Regions from separate parts of the Homo sapiens genome. Here all the other regions are linked to region 3. The links are contacts of gene promoters, found by promoter capture Hi-C in blood cells and fetal thymus (Javierre and others, 2016). All regions are on one chromosome and are shown on one strand. The core of a region is centred on a gene start or on the middle of the fragment in contact, and the rest is flanking DNA. Distances in the headings are between cores, read along the strand shown. Region 1 has its middle 15 kb from the start of GRID1. Region 2 holds the start of BMPR1A (bone morphogenetic protein receptor type 1A). Region 3 holds the start of CCSER2 (coiled-coil serine rich protein 2).

Region 1 (3,702 bases), core at 605-3,104, 2.1 Mb before region 3:
TTTCTTTCTTTCTTTTTTTTTTTATGAGACGGAGTCTCGCTCTGCCACCCAGGCTGGAGTGCAGTGGCGCGATCTCGGCTCACTGCAAGCTCCGCCTCCTGGGGTTCATGCCATTCTCCTGCCTCAGCCTCCCGAGTAGCTGGGACTACAGGCACCTGCCACCTCGCCCGGCTAATTTTTTTGTATTTTTAGTAGAGACGGGGTTTCACTGTGTTAGCCAGGATGGTCTCGATCTCCTGACCTCGTGATCTGCCCGCCTCGGCCTCCCAAAGTGCTGGGATTACAGGCCTGTTGTAAATATTTTCTAATTTTCATTTATCATGTTCTTTTTGTATACTGAGTTGTTTAGGAATGTATTTCTTAGTTTTATTTTTAATATTAATTACCAAGTTAATTACATTGTTGTCAGAAATCATGTTTAATGGCCGGGTGCAGTGGCTCACCACACGCCTGTAATCCCAGCACTTTGGGAGGCCAAGGCGGGTGGATCACCTGAGGTCAGGAGTTTGAGATCAGCCTAGGCAACACGGTGAAACCCTGTCTCTACTAAAAATACAGAATTAGCCGGGCGTGGTGACACATGCCTGTAATCCCAGCTACTCCGGAGGCTGAGGCAGGAGAATTGCTTGAACCTTGGAGGCGGAGAATGCGGTGAGCTGAGATCGTGCCATTACACTCCACCCTGGGCAACAAAAGTAAATCTCCATCTCACCAAAAAAAAAAAAAAAAAAAAAAGAAAAAAAAAAGAAATCATGTTTAATACTATTTCAATCAAACATTATCTTTTTTTTTTTTTTGAGATAGAGTCTTGCTGTTTTGCCCAGGCTGGAGTGCAGTGGTGTGATCTTGGCTCACTGCAACCTCCGCCTCCTGGATTCAAGTGATTTTCTTGCTTCAGCCTCCTAAGTAGCTGAGATTACAGGCATGCACCATCATGGTGGGTTAATTTTTGTATTTTTAGTAGAGATGGGGTTTTGCCATATTGGCCAGGCTAGTCTTGAACTCCTGACCTCAGGTAATCCGCCCGTCTCGGCCTCCTAAAGTGCTGGGATTAAAAGCATGAGCCACCGCACCCGGCCTAAACATTATCTTTTTGTAAATGTTCATGTATGCTTGAAAAGAAACTGTAGTCTGCTCTTGTTGAGTGCAGCATTCTATATGTGTCCACTAGATCAAATATGTTAATAATATTTTACAGATGGTTTATTTCTTCCCTGAATTGTGACGGCTTTTTACTGCTTTTCTTGTCTATACTGAGAGACTTGTGCTAAATTCTCTCACTGTGATGTTGGATTTGTCTTTCTTTTTGTAGATATATAATTTTGGACTTTATATATTTTGTGACTATGTTGTTAAATGCATACAAGTATAACATTTTTATGTCTCCCTTGTAAATGAAATATTTTATCATCACATAATAATCCTCTTTATCTCTAATAATACTTTTTTGCCTTAAAGTCTACTTTGTCTGATATTGCTATAGCCACAGTAGCTCTTTTTTGGTTAATGCTCACATGGCACATTATCCTTATTCCTTTTACTCTCAATATTTCTTTATTTTTATATCCTAAATGTGACTTTTGTCACATCTAGATTTTCACAAAAAATCCAATTTACTAACATTTGCAATTTGACTAAAGCATTCAATTCTCTTACATTTAATATACTTATTAATGTATTTTTGTTTTTAAAATATCACTTTATTTTGGGCTTTCTGTTCTGTTTCTCTTTCTTGCTTTCTTGGGCTCAACTGTATTTTCTTGGACTTCACTGTACTTTATCATACACTTTTCCATCCAAAGTTATTGTCTCCTTTTTTGTGTATGTGTTTTCCTTCAAAATTAAAATCTGCATACTTAATTTACCAAAGTTTACAGTTAATGAATACTTTTGCCATATTCCCCAGACAATCCCTGTATTGTCTTATATTTTAGTTCTTATTTTTTTGTATGCCATAGGCATCACTGTTCTAGACAGTGTTCATTTATATTCACCCATGCATTTAAATGCTCATTGCTTTTCACTCTTTCCTGTGCATAGGTCCTTCCATCTGGGATCACTTTCCTTCTGCCTGAAATAGCTCCTTGAGCATTTCCTTTAGTGAACGTCTGCTTCTAATTGAACTCTCAGAGTTTTTGTTTGCCTGAAAAATCTTTATTTCATCCTAATTCTTGAAAGACATTTTTTTCCTTAGTGTGGAGTTCTAGGGTAGAAACATTCTTTCAGCTCATTGAAGCTACCACTCCACTATCTTCCGCCTTGTTATGTGTGTACTGTTGTTGAGAAGTCAGCTGTCAGTTTAAGAAATCTGTTTTTTCTTCTCTAGCTGCTTTTACAATTTTTCTCTGTATCTTTGGTTTTCTGCTGTTTCACTATGATGGATCCAGGTGTGAATTTCCTATTGACCAGGAGTTCTAAAGTCACGTGGGTGGATTTCAGCAGTTGGGGAGGGCTGGGAGGTAGGATCAGACAAGGAGATGCCTACAGCTTGTAGGGGATTGATCTGGGATGCCACATCATTAAGCCTCAGTTGTGTGCTCTGTAAAAGAGGGTTGATGATATTTACTTTGCATCTCCGTCTTCATTCAGTAAGCATTGATTGAGAACCCACTAGGTGCTAGACCCTTTCCTGGGTAATGGGAACACAAGATGAGTCTCAGCTTTTGCGACTCTTCCAGCTAGAAGGGGAGGCAGGTGTGAGAACAGACATATATGATGGTGGGTGCTGCAGCCACAGGTGGCCCAAGGATGGGTCACTTCCACATGGGGTTGGGGGTGTAGGTAATAAAGACTTCCTGGTTCATGGAGTTTCAACTTCATCTTAAAAGCCACATACATTTCTAGGGGGCCATCCACGAAAGAAGGCATTCCTAGGAGAGGGAACAGCAAGGGCTGAGAGGTGGGAAACAGCGTGGCTCATTAGTGTTACCGAATTGTTTTACACTTTGGGGTTGGGAGCCCTTTGGAGGGCTTCTGTTCTAGCCAGTAATCTTTTTGTTGCCAGTGACCATAACACATGGCAGAAACTCACACTGCAAAGGCAGAGAGGGCAGGGGAACAGCCACCACCTCTTGCCTGTGCTTCTCTGGTTCCTTCCACCCATCAGGGATCATGTCTGCCCACCTAGCCTGACTTCACATCTTACATACCCATCACCTATAGGGCCGGATTCTCTTTATTCTAGTTAAAGCATTCTGGAGGAGGGTGCTGATTGGCTAGTTTGGAGTAGGTGGCCATCTTCAGACCAATCAGACATAGTCAGGGCCTGGGTCTTCTACGACCTCGGTCATTCCTGCTACAGCCCCGTGTTGTTTTGATGGCGCAGCTCTCAGGGCAGGGGGCATTGCCTGGGGCCGGTCCTGCAGAAATTCACTACAGCCTAAGTGCTGTGGAACTTGACCATTGTTCTGCAGACAGAGGGCCTAGCAAAGGGTTTGTGTGATTTTATATTATTTTTATTTTTAATTGTGATAAAATACACATAATATAGCATTTACCATCTTAACCATTTTTAAGCATACAGTTCAGTGGCATTAGGTACATTCACATTGTTGTGCAACCCTCACCACCATCCATCTCCTGAACTTTTTCATCTTCCCAAACTGAAACTCTGTCCCCATTAAACAACTCCCCATTCTCATCTTCCCTCAGACCCTGGCAACCACCATTCTACTTTCTGTCTCTGTGAATATGACTACTCTA
Region 2 (4,199 bases), core at 616-3,115, 2.4 Mb before region 3:
AGAACCCAAATACGACAGAGAAAATAACTCACGCTCCACTAAGCAGGAAAATTAGAAGGAAAGGAAAAAAACCCCAAGGTGTTAACTAATAAGAAAGACAAAAAAAAAAAAAAAAATTCTCCCTCTTTGACGGAAGGTTAAGAAGCCAGTAACAGAAGGAATTTAATGAAGGAGCTCCTGCTAAGTGCCTCAACCTCTTCTGTAAAGGGTGGGGAGAAGTGAAGAAAGTAGAAAAAGTTTAAAGTGGGCTCCACGGAAAATGGAGGAAAAATTAAACAAGAACTGAGTCTGGTTCTACTAAAAACGCATTCTACATTTCAATCGGCCTTTCATACACTCACCCCATTCCTAGATCAGAGAATTGCCCATATTTTAGCTTCAAATTTAAAAATCTAAATAATTCTGGTTCACATTCTTTATTTCAACAACTGAAAACAATGAGACGCATTAAGTTACACTCTAATTCAAAGTTTAACTCCTCTCACAAGTAAATACAATAAAGTAGTTGTTTTCAACTCCAGCAACAAAATAGCGATAATTTCAAGTAAGAGTAACTGAAAAATGTTCCTAAACGTAAAAGTGTTTGCAAACAGTTTTGGTTTTTTTTCTTCCTAATTCGTTTGCCAGAATACGATGTTCCTGGGTTCAAATCCCAGCTCCCTTAGACAAGTTAGTTAACCTCTTTGCGACTCGGTTTCTTCCCCTAAAACAATGAGGAATACAATAAACCAGAATCGTTGTAAGGATTAAATGACGTAACACAGGTGCCAAGTTCATACTATGTACTCTGAACAGTTTGTTAACCGCTTAAAAGAGAAAACCTGCAGGAGTTTGACCAAATTAAAACATCTGAGAGCATGAAAGAGTACCACGCTCAAACGCCAGACCCTAACACACAGCATATTATTTTTCTTCCCTGACGCAAGCTCATTTTTTTTTCCTTGCCAAATCTTTCCACTAGGAGTCTGGAAAGAGAAAAAAGGGTCCAGGCAATCCAGCAGAAAGTTTTCCAAAACTGAAGTACGGAATCACCAGGCCACGGAGCGGAGGCCGCGCAGGACAACAGGTGAAGCAGCTCCGGGAGCTCGGGGGCCAGGGCCCCTTCCCGCGGGGACTCGGGGGCGGGCCGGCTGCTCCTCTCACTCGACCCCCGCCCGAAACTCATTTTGTTCTCCCCTGTTCCTCCCCACAGCGTCCGGAGCCAAATCACAAATATCAGCCTCGCCGCTCCGGGGCGGGGAGGTGAGCGCCTTTCCCATTTAAGGATTCCAGAAGCGTCCCCGGAGCGACTTTCGCCCACTCCGCATCCCCAAACTCGGCCTGCAACCCGCGAGTGGGAGACAAAAGAGGGGCCGGCGGGGGACGCGGCGCGGGGTGCCGTGGGTCTCTGGCTGGGCGGTCCCGGCCCAGCGCGCGCCGAGGCCTGCGGAGCTGCCGGGGCCGGGCCGGGCAGCCCCTGGCTCCGGCCACCGCGCGCCCAGCTGCCTCTGCAGCCTCGCCCGAGCCCCTCTGGCCTCCCCGCTGCGGCCAGCCCCTCCGGTCCGCACGCGCACTCCCAACTCACCCGGACCCCAGGGAACGCATCCTCCAGCCCTCGGCGCGGAGCGGGTGGGCGCGGCGAGCCGCCGGGGCGAAGTGGGGCCCGAATCGGCCTTCGCCCTTGGCGTGCAGCGGCCCCGACCCGGTCGCCCCTCGATCGGGCCGTGCGATCTTCGCCGCGCGCGGACGGACGCGCCGAGCCTAAGCCTTCCTGCCCGCCCTTGGCCCTCCTCCCTCCTCGCTCCTGCCTCCTCCCTTCTCCTTCGCCAAGCCCGGCAGGCGGATTCCAATCTCTGCAGCGGCCGCCGCCACCGCCGCCGACTCTTGCCAGGAGGGGAGGGGGCGGCGCGGGTGCGGGGGCCTGGGGGAGGGGCGGGCGTCCGCGGGCCTTGCACGGCGCGCGCGCACTGGGAAGGCCCCCGCCCGCGCCGCGCGCACCCGACCACGGGCGCCTGCCCCGCCCCGCCCCGGACACGAAAAGAGCCGAGCGCACGGCGGAAGCGCCCGAAGAGTTCGCGGAGCCCGGCGCCCAGTTGCCGGGGAGGAGGGCCAGCCGCCGGCAAGGGGGCGCCGAGCTGCTGGTGCGGGCGGGAGTCGGGGCTGCTCCTCCGCGCGGGCCCGCCGGCCCCTCCCCACAAGCCAGCCCCACAGCTGCCGCCCGGGTAGCTTCCCGCAGACGCCGTAGGTAGCACGCGATGGAACGCGGCGGAGGGGAGCGTGGACACGGCTGCCGGGCGCTGCGGCCATCGGCGCCCTGGACGCCCGCTCCGGCCTTCGGGGCCGGATATCCCCACTCTCGCGGGCTCTTTCGCGTGGACCCCTCCTCCGGCCGACACTCACACTGCGGTGAACGCCAGTCAGCTGGCGTGAAATAAGGTCGCTGGGAAGGCACCAAGTCACCAAGGTGGGGGATGGCCAGGTCGTGGTAGTTGCGACAAAGAAAAATATAAGTCACATTGCATTTGTTTCTCGCCCACCCACCGCTCCCGGCGTCTCTTCCCGGGCTCCTTGCCAGCGTGCCGAGGCGCAGGCAGGGTGATGGAGGCTCCCCGGCCGGGAGGATCTGCCGGGGAGAGCGGCTTCCCTCATCGATTCGGGAGCGCCAGGCCCGGCGCGCCCGGGCTCCTGTGACCTGCGAGCCCGCGAATTCCAGCGGCATAAGATAAGGAGCGGCGAGGGCCCAACAGGACTGAGGTCAGCCAGCTATAAATACGCCTCCAGCTCCACCGCGGGCTCACGCTGGTGACCTCGTGTACCCTCCGGAGGCTCATTCCGTCCATTTGGAAAATGCAAATAATTGTCACCACCTCTTTTCTTCCATTTCCCCTCATTCATGGTGGAAAATGCTTTTAAAAGTATTCGATGACCCGTATGTGAGGAAAGAGGAGATAGGCCCCTTTTTCACCAAATGTGACTTTAACCTCCTTAGTAATCCAAGAAATGTATCAAGTTTAAGTCACTTAACAAAAGATGTTCTTTTAAAGGTGCATTTTAAAAAATCACTTTTAAAACTGGGTAAACTGGGTAAAAAGAAAGGGGGAAGGAAAACAATGTGCCAGGCATTTGTATTGACACACATTCTTGCCTGAAGAGGTGTTTAGATTCCAGGGTATTCCCTTATATTCTGGTATAAATGTTTGAATTCCCGTGTATTTTGTTTCAATTTTTTGGTTTATCTTTTATTCTGTCTCCCTTTTCTTCTTTTACCCGCCTTTGCCCTTAATGCTGCAGATAGCCTCTGTCATTCTGAATTATTTTTCAATTCTGTTTTCTTCCCTAATCTTTTTTTCTGGGCTCTTCAGCTGTCTCAGGTTTGACAGTCATGGGTTGTAGTATCTTGCTATGCAGGAAGAAGAGGATACGTGAGATTACTTGCATCAACTAAAATTGGTCACTTTTCTTTCTCAAGTTTCCTTCATAATACCCAGTTTTAGTTTTTTTGTTTTTTGGGGTTTTTTTGTTCTTTTTTTTTTGAGACGGAGTCTCGCTCTGTCGCCCAGGCTGAAGTGCAGTGGCGCCATCTCGGCTCACTGCAAGCTCCGCCTCCTGGGTTCACGCCATTCTCCTGCCTCAGCCTCCTGAGCAGCTGGGACTACAGGCGCCCGCCACCACGCCCGGCTAACTTTTTGTATTTTTAGTACAGACGGGGTGTCACCGTGTTAATAGGTGTTCTCGATCTCCTGACCTCGTGATCCTCCCGCCTCGGCCTCCCAAAGTGCTGGGATTACAAGCGTGAGCCACTGCGCCCAGCCCCAGCTTTAGTTCTAAAGGAAAAGATGGGCCTTTTGCTTAAGGAGATTCACATTGATTGGTCAAAGCTCTCATTGACGTATGCTGAGCAATGTGTCGGCAGAGAAAACCATGGCAAGCGTGTTATTATGCTCTTTATAGTCTAGTTGGATTTTTAGACATATGAATTGGTCTATAAAATAGACAACAATCTCAGGTGGGAACCTTAGTACATCAAGTTTCTGAAATGTACAAATGAGTATTCCCTGGCTTGTGTTATCTGCCACTGTAGAAATGAGAGCAAAATTGAAGCATCAAATTTTAAGTCGTGATATGTTTGCTTCTCTGCAAAAGACTCTCCTTTTCAAATCTTCAGGAATTTTTCGCTCTCCTTTGATAAGGCCCAGCTAGTACCCAGGCTTCAATCCTCA
Region 3 (3,701 bases), core at 967-3,466:
GGGGTTTCATTCCTAACCAGCCTACAATCCCAGCACTTTGGGAGGCCGAGGTGGGCGGATCACGAGGTCAGGAGTTTGAGACCAGTCTGGCCAACATACTGAAACCCGTCTCTACTAAAAAAAAATTAGCCAGGTGTGGTGGTGTGTGCCTATAATTCCAGCTACTCAGGAGGCTGAGGCAAGAGAATCGCATGAACCCAGGAAGCAGAAGTTGCAGTGAGCCGAGATGAGGCCATTGCACTCCAGCCCAGGCCACAGTGCAAGACTCTGTCTCAAAAAACACAAAAGAAACCCCAAAACCTGGTGGAGACAGACACATAAACAAATCATTAACTACCAGTTGACAAATACTAACTGGAGAGTGTACGAATCAGTTAAGACAAGAGGGATGAAATGTCTAGACAAGCCTCAGAAGTGCTACTTTCGTAAGGTCTTCAAGGGCAAGTTGTTTACTAGGTAGAGAATTCTCAACAAAGAACACTGAAAAACCACAGAGGAAGATGTCATCTTCAGAGAACTGCAACAGTCTTATATAGAGAGGGCAGGCATAATGGTAGAAGATGACACTAGAATGGAGACAAATACCGCTAATCATGAAGGACTTTGAATTTTATCGATATAGACTATGGAGAGTCACTGAAGGACTTGTAAATATGGATTCAAAGTCCCTTCCTCCAAAATAGTCAAAGGAGTTGAGTCAAAGCAACAAAAAATGCAGGTCTGAATGTGGAAAGGTAGAATTTTTACAGAATTCTTAATAGAGACTTTCGGCTTGCTTTCAGGATGGCTTCTAGTGCTTTCTTAACTATGGCTTATGCTGAAGTACGACAGTATGAATTATGGCTAAAGGGTTCAACAAAGTGTGCATTTTTAACCTGAAGATTATTTGAAGCCAATGTTGTTTAGAACACAAACGAAAACAAAAAATAACAGTAACAAGCTTTCATAAATTAAGAGAAACAGTAATAAAGTCCAAGAGGAAGAAGACTGATTTCAGGCAAACACTCAGGAATATTTACATTTTTATCACATATGGATGACGGATAAGACATGTTTTGAACCCATCTTTTGCAGGAGAGCATCTTAAGTTCCTTTTGGTTAAAGAGCAGCTGCCATCTCTAAAGTCTCTAGTCTAAAAGATGATGCTTTAAAAAAAACAACTGGCCAAATGAATAGGTTCCGTCATATTTTAATGCTCAGGAGAAAAGGAATGCTTTTCATATGGCTATTTTAAAAAGCTTAAAGCTCAATTTCTCTCTTACAGGAGTGAGCTACCAACACTCTAATCTGAGACCAGAGTCCCTGCGTCAGTCATTTCCACTCCGCTAAGGCCTTGTCTGGGAGCAGCCAGCCTCATTGGTCGGGGAGCCCACACAGATGAATATGCAATTACTGAAATGGAAACAAGCTTCGCCACCAAGGACCACCACAAAGGAGTCCCTTCATTCCTCCTTTTACTTTATCAAGAAAGTAGGTGCATTATTTAAAAATGTATGAAAATACATGTCTAAAGACAAGAGAGAAGATCTGAACCTACGGCAACGGTGTGCCCCACCAAAGTTTCACCTCAGGATGTGTTTTAGGGTGTGTCTTTCATTTAGCCCAGTAATTGAAAGAAAAAAAAAATCGAACTCATTCGGGGAGCCCCGGTACTTTCCCTATCCACCCTCACACGCAACCAGGCTCCGAAATCAGAGTGCCTCAGCCTCGCCCTGATTTCTCCTGAAAGGCGGCGGCGCCCGCGGCCCGAGGCCCCGCGCTGTCACAGCCGCAGGGAGGGCGCCCTCCGGCCTCCCGGGTCCGCGCCCGCCCCGCGTCCGGCGGCTCGCGAGGGGCTAGAGAGGCTCACCCTGGAGGCCGGGTACGGGAGGGCGACACCGCCTCAGCCCGGGAGTTCGGGCCTCCGCCCCGCCCCGGACTGCGTGCCTGGTCTTGGGCTGCCCCCGGCGCCCGCCGCGACCCCGGCCCCGGCTCTGGCCCTGAGCCCGGATCTCACCGTGCGGAGGTCGCGCTGCCTCCTCGGCCGCGGCCCAGCTGCAGGCCGCCCTGCGACCTGCGGGCCCGAGGACGGAAGGTGAGACGAAGGGCCGCCCGTCACATCCCCGCCAGCCCCGCCGCCCGAGCCGCAGCAACCAGCATCGCGTCCGCGGCCTGAGGGAGCGCCGGACTCCAAAGCCGCCGCGCCCCCTCCCTCGGCCGGCGCCCGCCCGGACTCCGCCCTCCAGGGCCGGCGCACCGCGCACGCGCAGTCCCGCCCCGCCGCGGGCCCGTGCGCAGGCGCGAGCCTCACGGGGCTACGGGGACCGCCCCCACCGCCTGATCCGGCCTCAGCCCACCTCTGGCCCCGCCCCGCCCTCACGCCAGGCTTTCCCAAGCTCCGCCTCCGCTTCGGGCCCCGCCCCCTCCACTGACCTTGCCTGGCCGCCTCCTGACTCAGGTTTTTGCTGGGCCCACGCAGTGACGCCAGTCTTGCGGCTGACCTCACCTCTAGCCGTCCCCTGGACTACATTTGCTGCTTGAGTGCGGTCAAACCTGACAGCTCCTCCTCCTGGATGTGAAAAGTGAGGAGTGGTCTGAGCATTGGGCATGACTGAACCACGCACCTGCCTACCGCATCAAAACACAGGATCTTGCTAAAGCTGAGGGGAAGGGGCACCCCAAGTGCTGATCTGGTTTTCCCTTTTTTTTTTTTTTTTTGAAACAGAGTCTCGCCCTGTCACCCAGGTTGGAGTTCGGTGGCGCTATCACAGCTCACTTGCAGCCTCCTGGGCTTAAGCGATCCTCTCGCCTCAGGCGTGTATCACCAAGCCTCCGAAATAATTACAACTAAGACCACACTAGTCAAAGTAAACTATCACAAGTTGACCCAAATACCCGGCTAATTTTTATTTTTTCTTTTTAGAGTTGGGGGAAGTGGTCTTACAGGCTAGTCTCAAACTCCTGGGCTCAAGCAATCCTCCCACCTTGGCCTCCCAAAGTGTTGGGATTACAGGCGTGAGCCACAGCTCCTGGCCAATGTGGTTTCTTTGCCAGAAACCAGGTCTTTCTTCCCTTTGGGGCTTCCATCCCCCAGAGGCCATCTCTTCCCCTCTTGTTTTTCCTCGACGCGGCCAGTCCTGCTGCTGAGAGTCCTCAGCCTGGAAGGCTTCCGGGCCTGGCCGGCTGTTTAAAGCTCTGGAGTTGCCCTTACCTGGTTGTAGACTTGCAGTTCTCTGAAATCCTCGTCGGCCCCAACAGCTCGGTTGTAATAACATTTCAGGAGAACTGCTTGAAAAATATCCAGTTCTTTCCTGTCTCCAGATCAATGATACTCAAATGGAAAAAGCAGACGGAATGCCTGATTTGTATAACCACACTTCATTTAATAATACACTTTCATATTTAGAAAATAATGTCTTTTAAATATCAATCCCTAAGATATTTAATGTATTGGACAATAATGTGTGCTTAAAATATTGACAAAGACTAGGTCTAAATGCTGTGCAATCTCTCTTTGGATTAAGTGAGATTAGAAAAGCAAACACCAGGCCGGAGGCGATGGCTCAAGCCTGTAACCCCAGCACTTTGGGAGGCCAAGGTGGGAGGATCACAAGGTCAGGAGTTCAAGACCAGGCTGGCCAATATGGTGAAATCCCGTCTCTACTAAAAATACCAACAAATTAGCCGGGCGTGGTGGCGCATTCCTGTAATCCCAGCTACTT

The links. Contacts are between HindIII fragments. The CHiCAGO score rates a contact against its expected background, and 5 or more counts as called.
Region 1: a fragment that was not itself captured here is called in contact with the fragment with the promoter of CCSER2 in region 3 in 1 of 17 cell types (naive CD8 T cells); the score reaches 7.5 in naive CD8 T cells.
Region 2: a contact is called between the fragment with the promoter of BMPR1A here and the fragment with the promoter of CCSER2 in region 3, in 1 of 17 cell types (non-activated CD4 T cells). The highest score is 6.0, in non-activated CD4 T cells.

Annotation. Positions count from the first base shown.
Region 1 is chr10:86,380,089-86,383,790 of GRCh38, reverse strand. No RefSeq gene overlaps it. Among named protein-coding and RNA genes, the nearest start is that of GRID1, 15 kb to the right of the region's middle. The HindIII fragment of the contact is 6,332 bases long and covers 1-3,702 here.
Region 2 is chr10:86,754,285-86,758,483 of GRCh38, reverse strand. BMPR1A (bone morphogenetic protein receptor type 1A) reads right to left here and starts at 1,865. Exons shown (of 13, transcript NM_004329.3): 1 at 1,565-1,865. RefSeq lists a silencer at 1,383-2,352. The HindIII fragment of the contact is 8,878 bases long and covers 1-4,199 here.
Region 3 is chr10:84,327,104-84,330,804 of GRCh38, reverse strand. It overlaps CCSER2 (coiled-coil serine rich protein 2), which reads right to left and starts at 2,216. Exons shown (of 10, transcript NM_001284240.2): 1 at 1,997-2,216. RefSeq lists enhancers at 196-275, 1,323-1,672 and a silencer at 1,723-2,452. The HindIII fragment of the contact is 12,289 bases long and covers 1,411-3,701 here.